Regions from separate parts of the Homo sapiens genome. Here regions 1, 2, 3 and 4 are each linked to region 5. Evidence: promoter capture Hi-C in 16 types of primary human blood cells and fetal thymus (Javierre and others, 2016). All regions are on one chromosome and are shown on one strand. Each heading gives the region's core, a stretch centred on a gene start or on the middle of the fragment in contact. The rest is flanking DNA. Distances are from core to core; before and after follow the strand shown.

Region 1 (2,700 bases), core at 172-2,671, 470 kb after region 5:
AGCCAGTGATCACTCCCAGGCTCTGAGAAACTAGAGATGTCAGCCACAAACCCTCCGTTCAGGGAAAGTTTGCGGCGCCGTGACGGATCGACTGGCACTGGGTGCAACATTGTCTTGTGGCCTAGAGACTAGAATATAAAAACAAAAACCAAATACAAAACTGCTGCTGGCATTACTCCTACTCTCCCCCCTCAAGTCAGTGGCTTCAGGCTTAAGAAAACCTGTATTTTTCTTGGCTGTGCCATAATCCGTAATTACCGAGGCCCCCAGCGACCCACCCAGTGTGATTCGCAGAGGGAAAGGAGCTGGAATAAGGACCGTGAATGGGGCGGATGTGGCTCGTCCTGGGAGAGAGCTAAAGCTTATGCTGGTCGCAAACAGCATTACATTGCAGGAAACTGCTCTTCCAATGGCCGTGGCTGGGTCCTTCCACACCATCCCTCTGCCCTAGACCTTTGTCCCCGTTCAGAGCCATCAGAGATTCTAGGAGAGCTGTCGACAACCGCATCTCTTCGGAACTTGGAAACTCTAGGTTCAAGATCTCCGTGGAGAATGAAAGGCACAGTCGCCTGACCCGGGCATCAGGCTTGCCCCGCACATCAAGTCCCTCCCCTACTGGATGGAACTCTGTGGCAATCGCTCCTTATTCTGATGGTTCACTCTGTCAGATATCCTCGATATTTGGGGATAGTAGTTCAAAAACAGCCGGGGAGGAAAATGGGCTGAAAGATTCCAGCGTTGGATGTAGAATTGACAGCGAGACATACACCTCCTCTCTAAGCCCAGAGAAAAGCTCAAGTTGTGGTTCTCTGTCTCTAGCAGCATGATCTTCAAAATGCATCATTGATTTCTATCTTCTGGGAAATGCAATGCAGGTGAACTTGTAAGTGCTCAAATCCTCCATCTCCTCACTTTTCAGACTGAGGCCTTTTTTTTTTTAAATCTGAGAAGAAATATGGGACTGCCACTGCTCAGTAGGAAAATGTCCTTTCCCACAAGCATTTATATTTTAATAAAAATCTGCACTTTGTGAGTTGAGCCCCCTCAAAGAGACCTACAAACCCTGCCACAAATATCTCCAACCACACTCATCATTTCCGATTTTCATCACTGCTGCTCCTGTGCAAACCAAACTATCCTTTCCCTGGGGCATCCTAGGTAGAGGCCATGCCAGGACAAAGGCAGAGATATGCCTGCCTGGTAAGGAAATCCATTTTGGCCTTGTAATTCTCACCCTCTCCCAAGATGTTTGCCTCAATATCTCCTTCCCACCTTACCCCGTCTTCAGCTAGCCAAAACATTCCCTGGTATTTGAGGCCCTTCCAATTTCCTCCTGGTTTTGTGGGTGGGAGAATAAAGAAAAAACTGCACTGTTCCCACCCACATAGTTACAGCCACTTTATCAAACGGAAGAGCAGTCTGGAGCCATTGCAAAACAAAATACCTGCCACAACTCCTCTCTTCTCATTTCGACTCCAGCTTTTCATCTTAGCAAAAAAGTTGCAATCAGCACCCCCTAGACGGAAGGAATATCCTGTCTTAATGGGAGTCCATAGGAGGCTGCAGGCTGCTCCCCTACAGAGACTAACATCAAGGTAGTTGCAGAATTCAGATTCTAATTACAGTGTGGTTGGAGGCGGGGTGGATTCCAGGGAGGTCAGGAAGAGGTAAAGTACAGAATTGAGCTCCTTGGGAGGAGGTCATAGGAACTTTGCAGTATGAAAATGGCTAGAGATTGGGTAGAATTGAGCAGGCTGGCAATGGCAGTTTTGTGTGGGTGGTAGGACCTAGGATTCAAACTTGAGGGCAAATTGTGGAGCACATACGACAAATGATGTAGAGCCTTTCCTATTTCCCTTCCTGCTGTGTCATCCGAAACAATAAATAATAAAGAATTAACAAAGACTGATATTTTTGTTCAATTTCATGAAGAAAAATCTCATCAAACTAAGATAACTATAATGACAAATCTTGTTAGAATATTATTAACCAAATGAAAGTGACACAAAACAGAAAAACGGTGGGAGGTGGGAGGGCCAAGAAAGAAAAAGTCCCCAACACTCAGGTGGTGTGTACAGGTGAATCTTCTGGTCAGTTGGTATGTTGCAGAAAGCTGGGCAACTAATAAATTAGGAGGCAGGAATTCATATGAATACTTTCCTGATACAGAGAAACTCTTGGTTTTAACAATCTACTTCTTTGTCAGGTATTGGTTCTTGATTTTAGGCTCAGAAAAGATGGTAACAGTTATAACTGTAGTAGAGCAGGTAAAAACAAAGATCATGCAGGAGTCTAGACAGAAAGTAAAAGGCAAAAATGTCCCAGGGTAAGTAATCTAGAGTAAGAAAGTGAAGAATTCTGCTTGGTGCCAACGGAGGGCTCCACCATGCCTCTGGTTCACCTACAAAAAATGAACCATTTGCTGTTGGTCTCTGGGATTGAAGATTCACCCTCCCAATTTCCTGCCTGTCCTAAGCTTACCTGTAACTTAGAGGGTTTTGTGTCTGTTTTTTTGTTTGTTTTGTCTGTTTGTTTTGTAAAACACTCTCTACAAATGTTTGATAGATTATAAACCGCAGGATCCACTAGACCCTGCAAGGTGCAGGGGAGCCCTGTGACTACCACTCCAATGCACCTCCACACATGTTCTTCCTCCTAGTTCCTCCACAGAATTTCTTCTTCCTGGTTCCATTTGCTGTA
Region 2 (2,700 bases), core at 97-2,596, 390 kb after region 5:
CTTTGTGTATATGGCTCCCATCACCGCATCTGGCATATGGAAGGATATCAACACATGCTTGTGAAATGTTGAAACTAATCAGACTTTTACAGTAAGAATGATATTTGACCAAAAAAATCTGCATTTGTATCTGTCAACTTAAAAGAATCACACAATTATTAATTTAGAAAGGAGATTTTCTTTTCTTTTCTTTTCTTTTTTTTTTTTTTTTTTTTTTTTTGAGACAGGGTCTCACTCTATCACCCAGGCTGGAATGCAATGGCACAATCATGGCTCACTGTAGCCTCAGCTTCCCCAGACTCAGGAGATCCTCCCACCTCAGCCTCCTTAGTAGCTGGGACTACAGGCATGTGCCATCATGCCTGGCTAATTTTGGTGCTTTTTGTAGAGATGGGGTTTCTCCATGTTACCCAGGCTGGTCTCAAACCCCTGGGCTCAGGTGACCCCTCTGCCTCAGTCTCCCAAAATGCTGGGATTACAGGTGTTAGTCACTGTCCCCGGACAACTTTCTTTTTTTTTTTTTGTAGAGACGCAGTTTTGCCGTGTTGGCCAGGCTGGTTTTGAACTCCAGGCTGGTTTTGGCCCCAAGTGATCTGCCCACCTTGGCCTCCCAAAGTGCTGGTATTACACATGTAAGCCACCATGCACAGACTTAATTTTATTTCTTATAATGTGTTATGGCCTGTAGGGTGGTTATTCTGACAGGCTGGAAAGTGTAGTCCCCAGCCAAAGACAGAAGCAGGCACTTTGAGGAAGTGGAGGGTGGAACAGGGATTTATGTTGAATGGGTTGACCAAGTATACGTATTCAACAGGTTACAGGAGGCATATAAATATTCATGAATGTGTTCCTAATGCATGTGTACTGAATAAATATGCCTGTTACATACAGCCCATATTCATTCTGGGGTGGAGACAACATTCAAATGTATTACAGTTAGGCCATATATGTCAAAAGGTGAAACAGGGACACGAAGGCACTCAAGTGCACAGCCTCTGTGAACAGTGCATGCTGGTGGTCTTCTTATTAGGAGAAAGTTACTGAAATCAGTCTCTTGTCCAATCAAAGCTGCATTTATAGCTTGTGGAACAAGGGCCTCAGTTAGTCACTGTCTGGCGATGGATGAACTGTAATGGTTTTAATAGTGATTATCTTGAGGCCAGCGCTTGATTAGCTGCTAGAAAAAAAAAAAAAAACCTTGTGGTAGTTAGAACATAATTTGTTTTTTAAGTGTAGAGATGTGTGATTCAACCCTTGCCTGGCACAGCCTTAGGTCTCATTTATAGTTTGGTGTCTTAATGCTATAAGGAGTCTGTTCTGTCAGTCTCATGATCCCTATTGTAATAATAATGCTAGTCAGTCATGTTTAAACTGCAAAAGGGAGTAGGTATAACAAGCTATGTCTGACCTCCTGTCTTGTCATAGCTAGGAACTCAGGTTTCTCTGGGGTCCCCTTGGCCAATAGAGGGTCCATTCAATTGGTTGGAGGCCTTAGGATTTTATTTTTAGTTCTCATACCCCTTGATGTTTTTGCAAACAGAATGTTTGACTCAGATGAAAACGTATTACAATACAATTTCATTATGGCTATGATATGAGAAGGAAACATAATCTACTTTCAGACAGAATACTCCAAGAAAGGTACCGTTTTACATTTGTTCTCATTACTTTATCTTTGAATCCATGATAAAATCAATAATAATGATATTAGTATTAATAGCAATTGACCAAATTATTTTCTGCTATGCTATGTTGAATATTCACTTTTATATGGAATGCCTTCATGAAAGCTACCTTGTAAAATGAGAGCAAATTTCACTTCCATTTCAGAGATGATAAAATAACCGAGTCAGCCAGCCAGAGAACTTGGCTTCTTGCTATTACACATATACACACACATTCTGAAATCCTTCTAACTTAGCAATTCATCAGTAAAAGCCAAAACTGGGCTTGTGAAAGTCCAAGTTAGGAATGTACAACTATCTCTGCCCCACCTCTAATCCAAAACCCAAACCATTCCTTAGGCATCTCCCCAAGAATTCCTCTGCTAAGAGACCTGGGTTTCAGAACTACCTACGTGATTTGGGGCAATAATCATGCCCCAAATCATGCAGCATACTACAAGCCAGTGTCCCCCAAAAGAGCTTCCTTCTAGGAAGCTAATACTCTTCTTTTCAACTTCTAACCCAGTCTGTCACCAAAAGGATTTCATTCTAGAAAATTTCATCAAAGGTGATTGGCTTTTATGTTTATAACACCAGGCCATTCTTCTGTTGCGATCAGCTCTGGGCTTCCTGTCACCACCCAGCTTGCCCCTATCTGCTTGGGACTGCCTAATCAGCCAGAAGACCACAAAAAAGGGCACTCATCCTTTGTCACCTGAAACAGGACAGATGTGAAGCACTTTCAACAACTTGTGCTTGAGGCCTGGGATTCTGTAGAGCATGTTCCAGTGTACAAGAGGATTCAAGTCCCTGGCAGCCTGCTTTCTATCCAAAGCTGGGTCACCTCTCTTGGGACCACCAGGACATTGAATTGCTTTCCCATTCCTGTGGACTTCTGAAATGGGCCCACCTGAGACAAGAACCCAGAGTGCCTAGCACCTTTAGGCTGGGCACAGAACCACCCACCTAGGAACCGATGACTGCAACCCAGGAGGAGACACAGATGCCCCCAGAGATGCCCCCAAGTCACAGCCTC
Region 3 (2,700 bases), core at 8-2,507, 310 kb after region 5:
ATAGGGACATGTTGGGTTGCAGGAAGGGCAAAGAGAAGATTGAATTGCAGGAAGGGCGAAGAGAAAAAGATTGAATTCACATGCTGCCTTCTTTACCATGTCAATAGAATTAATGAAGTTACATTTGCAGGGCAGGGAGTAGAGTTTTAAGAAGTTCAGACTATTATGACAGCCTCTGGTTTTTTTTTGTTTGTTTTTTATGGGTTTTAAAGTAATAAATATCTAGGCTTCTAACTATGAAGGATTTTATTAACTGATGGGGTGATGAGGGTTTAATTCCTTCTTCTCATTTGAATTCTTCATGACAAATCCTGTAAGAGGTATAGCACAGCTCAGCAGATTACACAAGAAAAACAATCTAGATCTCCCTCTCCTGATGTAATTAACACAAAGGTCAGTGTTAACCTAATGAATTCAAAGCTATTAGTTTTCTCCAACAAAATCAGACTAAACTTTCTAGGTCAGGCATTTGTTTGTAATTTTGCATCTAAGAGTTATAAAATACTTTTTGTGTGACTAGTTTAATGATCATAGAATCACTTGTTTAAAACAACCAACCCATGTTAAATTGAAAATGCGAATTAAAATCCACTTGATTGGTAAAGGTATCTACATTTAGGCCTCACTCTATGGCTTAATAAGCCTGTTGGCTTATTCAAACTATGAAATGGGTAGTTAGTCCAGAGAACTTTCATGGACCCTTCCAATAATGACATCTTTAATTCCAAGTTCAAACTAGTGGGAGCAGAAGCATTCAAATTCTCATGAAAATGTCCCTACATTCAGTATTATCTGAGTATGGTAGCCTTTTTATTTTTATTTATTTATTTATTTATTTATTTATTTTGAGACAGAGTCTTGCTCTGTGGCCTAGGCTGGAGTGCAGTGGCACGATCTCAGCTCACTGCAACCTCCATCTCTCGGGTTCAAGCGATTCTCCTGCCTCAGCCTCCTGAGTAGCTGGGATTACAGGCATCCGCCACCATGCCTGGTTCATCTTGTATTTTTAGTAGAGATGGGGGTTTCACCATGTTGGCCCAGGCTGGTCTCGAACTCCTGAACTGGTGATCTGTCCACCTTGGCCTCCCAAAGTGTTGGGATTACAGGCGTGAGCCACCGTGTCCAGCCAGGTAGCCTTTTTAAACTGGTAAGACTACAAGAGCCTTCTGATTTTGTACATATCCAAAAGATGTCTAGCTTTTAAATGTATTGCTAATGTATTCAGTTTAGTTTTTCTTTCAATCTCAAATGATAGGTGTGGTGTAATTAAAAAAAAAAAAAAAATAGGCCAAGCACGGTGGCTCATACCTGTAATCCCAGCACTTTGGGAGGCTGAGGTGGGTGGATCACCTGAAGTCGAGAGATCGAGACCAGCCTGACCAACATGGTGAAAACCCGTCTCTACTGAAAAAAAAAAAATTAGCCGGGCATGGTGGCGCATGCCTGTAATCCCAGCTACTCGAGAGGCTGAGGTATGAGAATCGCCTTAACCTGGGAGGTGGAGGTTGCAGTGAGCAGAGATCGTGCCATTGCACTCCAGCCTGGGCAACAAGAGTGAAACTGTCTAAAAACAAAACAAATAAAATGGATTTGGGTTTTTCTCCCTGGTTCCTTGCACACAGCTCCAAAAATCCTTGTAATTTCCAGAATGTCTTTTGTTATTCATTACAAGCCCCTTTTGATCTTACCAGTTTATGCTAATGAGATGACTACTGGCAGAGGGCCCCTAGATAGCTTCAAGATGGGCACGGGTCACTAGAGGAACCAGTTGTATTAAAGGGCTACAACTATTACCCCCACCCGAGACCTCCAGGGAGAAGAGGGGCTGGAGATTGAGCCCGGAGGCCAATAATTTAATGAGTCTAGGTTATAAAATGTCAGTAAGGGAGCTTCTGAGTTGAACACATCAACATGCTGGGAAAGTGGCATGCCAAGTGAGGGCAGAGAAACCTCTACTATTCTCCTCCACAACCCCCTCCATCCACCTTACTCTATGCATCTCTTCCATTTGGCTGTTCCTGAATTGTATACTTACTGTAGTCGTTAAGTATAGTGCTTTCCTGAGTTGTTTCAATGCATTATTGAACTTGGGGGGATGGGAAGGCCATAAGAACCCTAAATTTACGGTTGGCTGGGCAGAAGCGCGGGTAGCCTGTTGATCGCATTTGTGGCTGGTGTCTGAAGTGGGGGCAATTTTGTGGTACTGAGCACTTAACTTGCTCTAAATCTGGGTGGTGTCAGATTCAATTGTTGGACACCCAATTGATGTCTGAGAATTGCTGTTGAAACGGAGTAGAGATAGAAAAGCCTCTCATCGTTCTCAGTGCACTTGGGACTTATTTCTATGTGATCATCATTGCACACTCTACTGTCCAACTTGGTACCTCATACTGTAGACTTATCTTAAAACTCCAGTACAAATACAGTAGAACACTGGAGGACTAAATATCCAGTTTGCTTCAGTACTTGAAGCAAATATACATCAGTTGTTAACAGCTGTTTTATGTTCTACATAAAGTGCTTTCCAACTACAAAATGTTATTCAACATACAGTTTATCACCAGTAGATAGTTTTCCTCTACTTTTGCAATCAAATTTACTGGCATTCTGGGTACACTGATAGCTTCTATACCTTTTGGGAAAAGAAAAATGAACTATATCTGCATCTCAAATCTACCTCGAAAGGTCTTGACAAATGTG
Region 4 (2,700 bases), core at 109-2,608, 330 kb after region 5:
AGGTGAAGGAGGAATGACAATCTTGCCATCTAGGGAGAGAAACATCTTACGACTCCAGAAGATATAGGGCAGGGAGGGACAATAATCTTTGTCAAGCTGGGTGTGGTGGCTCACACCTATAATACCAGCACTTTGGGAGGCTGAGGCGGGAGGATCGCTTGAGTCCGGGAGTTTAAGAACAGCCTGGAGAACATAGTAAGACCCCATCTCCACAAAAAATTATAAAAGATTAGCTGGGCATGGTGGCACATGTCTACAGTCTCAGCTCCTTTGGGAGGCTGAGGTGGGAGGATCATCTGAGCCTGGAAAGTTACAGCTGCAGTGAGCTGTGATTGCACCACTGCACTCCAGCCTGGGTGACACAGTGAGACCCTGTCTCCAAAAACAAAACAAAACAAACCACCTTTGTCTTTCAGAACTGCCCCTAGAACCTTTCAAATTAAGAAAAATGCTCAGTTGCAGGTCTCTCCAATGGCTATAAGCATTTTTAAACTGACTGCTGTGTTTGCCATTCCCTGCCAAGTGGTTTCCCTTAACTTTACCAACATATCTTCTAAAAACAGCTGGGGATGACTCCTGTGTGTCGCAGGCAAAACACCATGCTCCACTACCATTCTCATAGCTGAGATCAGTCCATGAGGTGGACAGTTACTACTCAAGTCAGCTGGCATTCAGGAGCTTGTGATAAATAGGACAGACTCGGCTGGGAGTGGTGGCTCACACCTGTAATCCCAGCACTTTGGGATGCTGAAGCAGGCGGATCACTTGAGGTCGGGAGTTCGAGACCAGCCTGGCCAACGTGGTGAAACTCCGTCTCCACTAAAAACACAAAAGTTAGCTCAACCTAGTGGCACGTGCCTGTAGTCCCAGCTACCGGGGAATCTGAGGCAGGAGAATCACTTGAACCTGGGAGGTAGAGGCAGTGAGCCAAGATCATGTCACTGCACTCCAGCCTGGGCGACAGAGCGGGACTCCATCTCAATAAATAAATAAATAAATAAATAGGAAAGAAGTCAACTGACTGTCCTGTCCTCAGTCTCTCCAAAAACTAGAACTAGACTGAATCATTCTAATTGAACTGGGAAAGGAGACTACATTGGAGGCTATATCAATCTGTGCCTCTACACTGATGCAGGTTCGTGCCTACTTTGGAGGCACGAACAATTGCAAATAGTACTTTCCTTTCAGGGTTCCTATGTGCCCCTGGGACTGTGCTTCTTGTGTGGAAGCCAGGTACTAATTTCCTTGCCTCACAAAAATACGATGACTGGCAAGGCGCGGTGGCTCGTCCCTGTAATCCCAGCACTTTGGGACTCCGAGGCAGGTGTGTTACTTGAGGTCGGGAGTTGGAGACCCGTCTGGCCAACATGGAGAAACCTCATTTCTGCCAAAAATACAAAAATTAGCAGGGTGAGGTGGCAGGTGCCTGTAATCCCAGCTACTAGGGAGGCTGAGGCAGGAGTATTGCTTGAGCCCAGAAGGCAGAGGTTGCAGCGAACTGAGATTGCGTCACTGCACTCCAGCCTGGGCACAGAGTGAGACTCCGTCTCAAAAAAACAAAACAAAACGAAACAAAATGACGACTTACACCTAAGAGGTGGTTATAAGAGACCATCAAGTGTTTAAGGAAGATCAAGCAGCCCTCGGGTGACTGTGGAGGTCTCATTTAAGGATACTCTTGGTTAGAAATTCTCAAAGGGATGCTTCCTAGAATAATAACTGACTTATTTATGCACATCCCGTGGGCAGTTTTCCCTAATAGGAGTAATCCAATTAAAAAAGTGGTACAACATTGTGCATGACTTAAGCTGATATGTTCACTGATATCACTTGGGCTCTGGAAGGCATTTATGTCAGCTTCAAGCCACTGGGGCCAGGTTTATTATGAATGAAAAACTTGCCCTAGTAGACATCCTCCCTATGGGACAATGTGGAGCCTGTATAATTGTAAAGCATCTTGCTATACTTAGACTAATGCCCAGGGCTAAGTGGAAAAGTCAATACAGAAACCGAAAAAGAAAGTCACCTGTTTTTCTAGGGATTTGTTCAGTTGGCTGAGTCCAGAATGAACCTTAGTGTGGTGGGTGCATGATTAAGGTCAACACGGCAGGGTGCCCAAATCCTGCTGCTTGAAGTTCTGTTGACTTCAATAAATCCTTAAATAAATCCAGTAGGAGAAAAACTGAATGGATTAGGTCCTGGTCCCTGTGTTTTTTGTTTGTTTTTGGGACAGAGTTTCACTCTTGTTGCCCAAGCCAGAGTGCAATGGCGCGATCTCAGTTCACTGCAGCCTCAGCAATTCTCCTGCCTCAGCCTCCTGAGTAGCTGGGATTACAGGCATGTGTCACCGTGCCCAGCTAATTTTTTTGTATTTTTAGTAGAAATGGGGTTCCACCACGTTAGCCAGGCTGGTCTCGAACTCCTGACCTCAGATGATCCGCCCGCCTCGGCCTCCCAAAGTGCTGGGATTACAGGCATGAGCCACCGCACCCAGCCAGGTCCTGGTCCCTACGGTCAGATTAATCAGAGCGGCTAAAGAAGTGCTGTACTTATGGGGAAAATTCAGTACCAGCCAGGATAATACAGAAACAAGGATATGGAACAAGACAACTCTCCATGGATACTCATAATGTTTCTGCATGTCTTATAAACAAAGACATTGAGAGCCTTTTATTTTGGACTATCTTTTCAAAGTTGTCT
Region 5 (2,700 bases), core at 29-2,528:
AATAGCTCCATAAAGCCTAGATTATAAGACTTTGTACCACACTGCCAAAAGGGTAATGCCAAATTATTACTGCATTCAGAAGGAGAAAATTTGTCCTTAACATGGCTAAAAGCACTCAAAATTATAAATACATTTGCTGAAAGATACTTTAAATTCTCATTTAAGGTGTGTGGGAGTTAAAAGGTGTTTAATTTTCCCTGTCAGTTGGGTGTTTTACATTGGCTAAGAACCAAGACTGTGACAAGAAATGAGTTCTATGATTGAGAAACTCTAAGATTCTGGGGGTGGCCTAGGAGTTTACTTTGAGATTGAAATTTATTTTCTATGGTCAACTGTATAATTACGATGATACCACCCCTTGCTTTCCATCTGACACTTGGTTTGAGAAACTGTAGGTAGGAAAGGGAAAGAAGAATGTCCCTCCTTGGGCCTCTTCTTTTGGGCCTGTGCTTCCTAGAGTCAAATGTCAAGCTGGTATTTCCTTGGTGCTAAGAGCAACCACCACTCTGAGGCAGAGACGGGATGGGACCTAGCCAAAGTCCCAGTAAACAAACTGTATCTTGTAAGCGCAATTTAATTAGGGTCAAACTATTCTGTATGGACTTGCTTTTTCGACTTCTGAGGATTTAGTAGTCATGATTAAGTGCTGTCACGCTACTGCGATCTACAAACAGTAGCTCCACAACATCCGCCCGCATCGTGGCAAAGAATTATCAAGAAATCCCCAAGGGGGCGGTGAGGAGCCGCCGGTCGGCCAGGTCGCCCGGTCCCTCAGTCTGGTGAAAAGCTCCGTTGCCCACCCTGAGGGCTTCGCGGAAGGAAGTTGGCCGTATCGCTGCACCTTAGAGATGCGACGGCCGAGGCTCCCAGCTCAAGCTTCTGGTAGTAAGGCCTGTGTGCCTGGCATTCGGGGAGGCCACTTTTCTATCCCCAGCTTCCGGGCCACCACTTGGGTGCGTCGTGGGGATGTCGGCAGCTACGTTTGCGGCACAGCTCCGGCTAAACTGAAAAACGAATCCTCAGGTTTGACAAAACTAAACTAAAAAGACACTTTTCTCCTCTCACTCTGACGTCCCAAAAGTTTCCTTTTTAGGGGTCGGGGCCTACGGTGGGCGAGGAGAAACTCGAGGTATCTACCCACCGCACCAAACAACTCATGCGTCGCTTCCTTTCGACTTGGAGCTGGCCAGTATCCCGGCGTCCTCTCGGCCGACGCTGCGGTCTGAGGCCACTCTGGCCGGCAGCCGACGTCTCTATGGCTCCGACCGAGGGGCGGAGCCGCTGCTCGAGCTGCTGCTGGATTGAACTCAGAGAAGCCGGGGTGGGTATGGCTGAGCCGCTGCGTGGGACTGAGGGGAGGGGGCCGGGTGGACGCCGCGGAACTGCGTCCTGAGGTGGGAGACCGGAGGTGGGGGACCACTGAGTCTGATGTCTGGAGGGTCCGGTTGCGGGTCGGAGGGCGTGCTGGAACAGCCGCCACGCGGGAGCCAGGAGCCTCCTGGGTGCGTGTGACCCACGAGCCGGCACCGTCCCGCGGCCCTGGGGTCTGCGAGGAGCCCTGGCGCCGCCCTCCGGCTTCGCGCTTTTTCTAGATCCCTAGAACCCCAGCCCTCCGCCTACGCTCCGCGCCCCTGGCCTTTTTCTGGCCCAGGGTGGGGTTCCGGGAGTCGTGCCGAAGGAGCCCATTGCCGTCCTTAACCGGTTGTAAGAGCCTTTCGTGCCCCGGAGCCTTTGAGGCTTGAATGCTGAGAGTGTGACATGGTCCTTTCCCTGCAGCCTGGCCCATTTTTTTAAATGACATTTGAAAAATTATTGCATCACACCAGACTCAGAAAAGGATGTCTGGGAACTTCTGAGGCTTGAAACATGTTGAAATACAGAATTTTGTTTTATTCGTAATGGGCATAGGAACTAAACATTTTAAGTGCAGACATCTGATGGCTATAAAAAGTTTCAGTGAAAGTAAGCAAGATTTGTGTTTCCTTTGTCAGTTAGTTGCATCAGATTTGGCATCTGCTTTTGATATTTTTCCATTAAAGAAATTAAATATATTAAGTTTACAGCAACTACAGTTCAGTGAAGAAGACTTACTGGTAAAGCATAATAAAGGCGGTTTCTGGAATTTGGACCGTGTTTTGACCTTGGGTTTTTGCATATAATGTGTAAGGTTGGTGGGGAAGAGGGAAAGTTAAAACAGATGACACTTACTTAGAGAATGTATCAGCTCTTATTTGTTTTGACAGAAATAATGTCTAAGAGATTATTAGCAAACAATACATGATAGCGTATAATTAAAGTGACCAGCTAATTATATGTTTGTGGAATTCAGGAAGGAGAAAAGTACTGTTATGTATACTCTGAAGGCCCCAAAGTTAGTGGTATTTGCTATAAGGGGGATGGGGTGTGACAAAGTTTGGCCATTGCAGAAAATGGCTTCTGCGAGTCATAGGGAGGAATTTATAATATGTCAGTTATGTCAGAGAAGCTATCCCAAACAGTATCTTTAGTTCATAGGCTGCGGATTTATTATGTGATTATCTCTTGTATTAGTAAAATGGAATATTTATTAAATACCTTGAGCACACTGGATTTTTAAACATGACAAGTTTAAAAGAGATCACTACTCTTAAGGAACCTTATCAACAAAAGTGAATATGTAAAAGGAGGTTCGGGAGTCCGTTTTATTTGTAGGGGGAGGAA

What was found. The method cuts DNA at HindIII sites, captures the fragments that hold promoters and counts their contacts. A CHiCAGO score of 5 or more calls a contact.
Region 1: a contact is called between a fragment that was not itself captured here and the fragment with the promoter of TMEM267 in region 5, in 4 of 17 cell types (naive CD4 T cells, total CD8 T cells, naive CD8 T cells and 1 more). The highest score is 5.8, in naive CD4 T cells.
Region 2: a fragment that was not itself captured here is called in contact with the fragment with the promoter of TMEM267 in region 5 in 4 of 17 cell types (total CD4 T cells, activated CD4 T cells, non-activated CD4 T cells and 1 more); the score reaches 6.4 in total CD4 T cells.
Region 3: a fragment that was not itself captured here is called in contact with the fragment with the promoter of TMEM267 in region 5 in 1 of 17 cell types (activated CD4 T cells); the score reaches 5.1 in activated CD4 T cells.
Region 4: a contact is called between a fragment that was not itself captured here and the fragment with the promoter of TMEM267 in region 5, in 1 of 17 cell types (total CD8 T cells). The highest score is 6.0, in total CD8 T cells.

Annotation. Positions count from the first base shown.
Region 1 is chr5:43,015,257-43,017,956 of GRCh38, reverse strand. The region is part of intron 2 of ANXA2R-OT1 (ANXA2R overlapping transcript 1); the gene reads left to right. Among named protein-coding and RNA genes, the nearest start is that of FLJ32255, 23 kb to the right of the region's middle. RefSeq lists enhancers at 244-483, 2,270-2,319. The HindIII fragment of the contact is 2,115 bases long and covers 364-2,478 here.
Region 2 is chr5:43,096,349-43,099,048 of GRCh38, reverse strand. LOC124900972 (a long non-coding RNA gene) reads left to right here and starts at 1,556. Exons shown (of 2, transcript XR_007058762.1): 1 at 1,556-1,641; 2 at 2,262-2,700. The HindIII fragment of the contact is 4,508 bases long and covers 1-2,700 here.
Region 3 is chr5:43,177,107-43,179,806 of GRCh38, reverse strand. No RefSeq gene overlaps it. Among named protein-coding and RNA genes, the nearest start is that of NIM1K, 14 kb to the left of the region's middle. The HindIII fragment of the contact is 3,514 bases long and covers 1-2,700 here.
Region 4 is chr5:43,150,304-43,153,003 of GRCh38, reverse strand. The region is part of intron 4 of ZNF131 (zinc finger protein 131); the gene reads right to left. Among named protein-coding and RNA genes, the nearest start is that of ZNF131, 31 kb to the right of the region's middle. The HindIII fragment of the contact is 9,324 bases long and covers 1-2,700 here.
Region 5 is chr5:43,482,443-43,485,142 of GRCh38, reverse strand. TMEM267 (transmembrane protein 267) reads left to right here and starts at 1,278. Exons shown (of 3, transcript NM_022483.5): 1 at 1,278-1,321. C5orf34-AS1 (C5orf34 antisense RNA 1) reads right to left here and starts at 1,224. Exons shown (of 3, transcript XR_007058763.1): 1 at 1,142-1,224. RefSeq lists enhancers at 949-1,138, 404-1,247 and a silencer at 1,193-1,423. The HindIII fragment of the contact is 3,795 bases long and covers 879-2,700 here.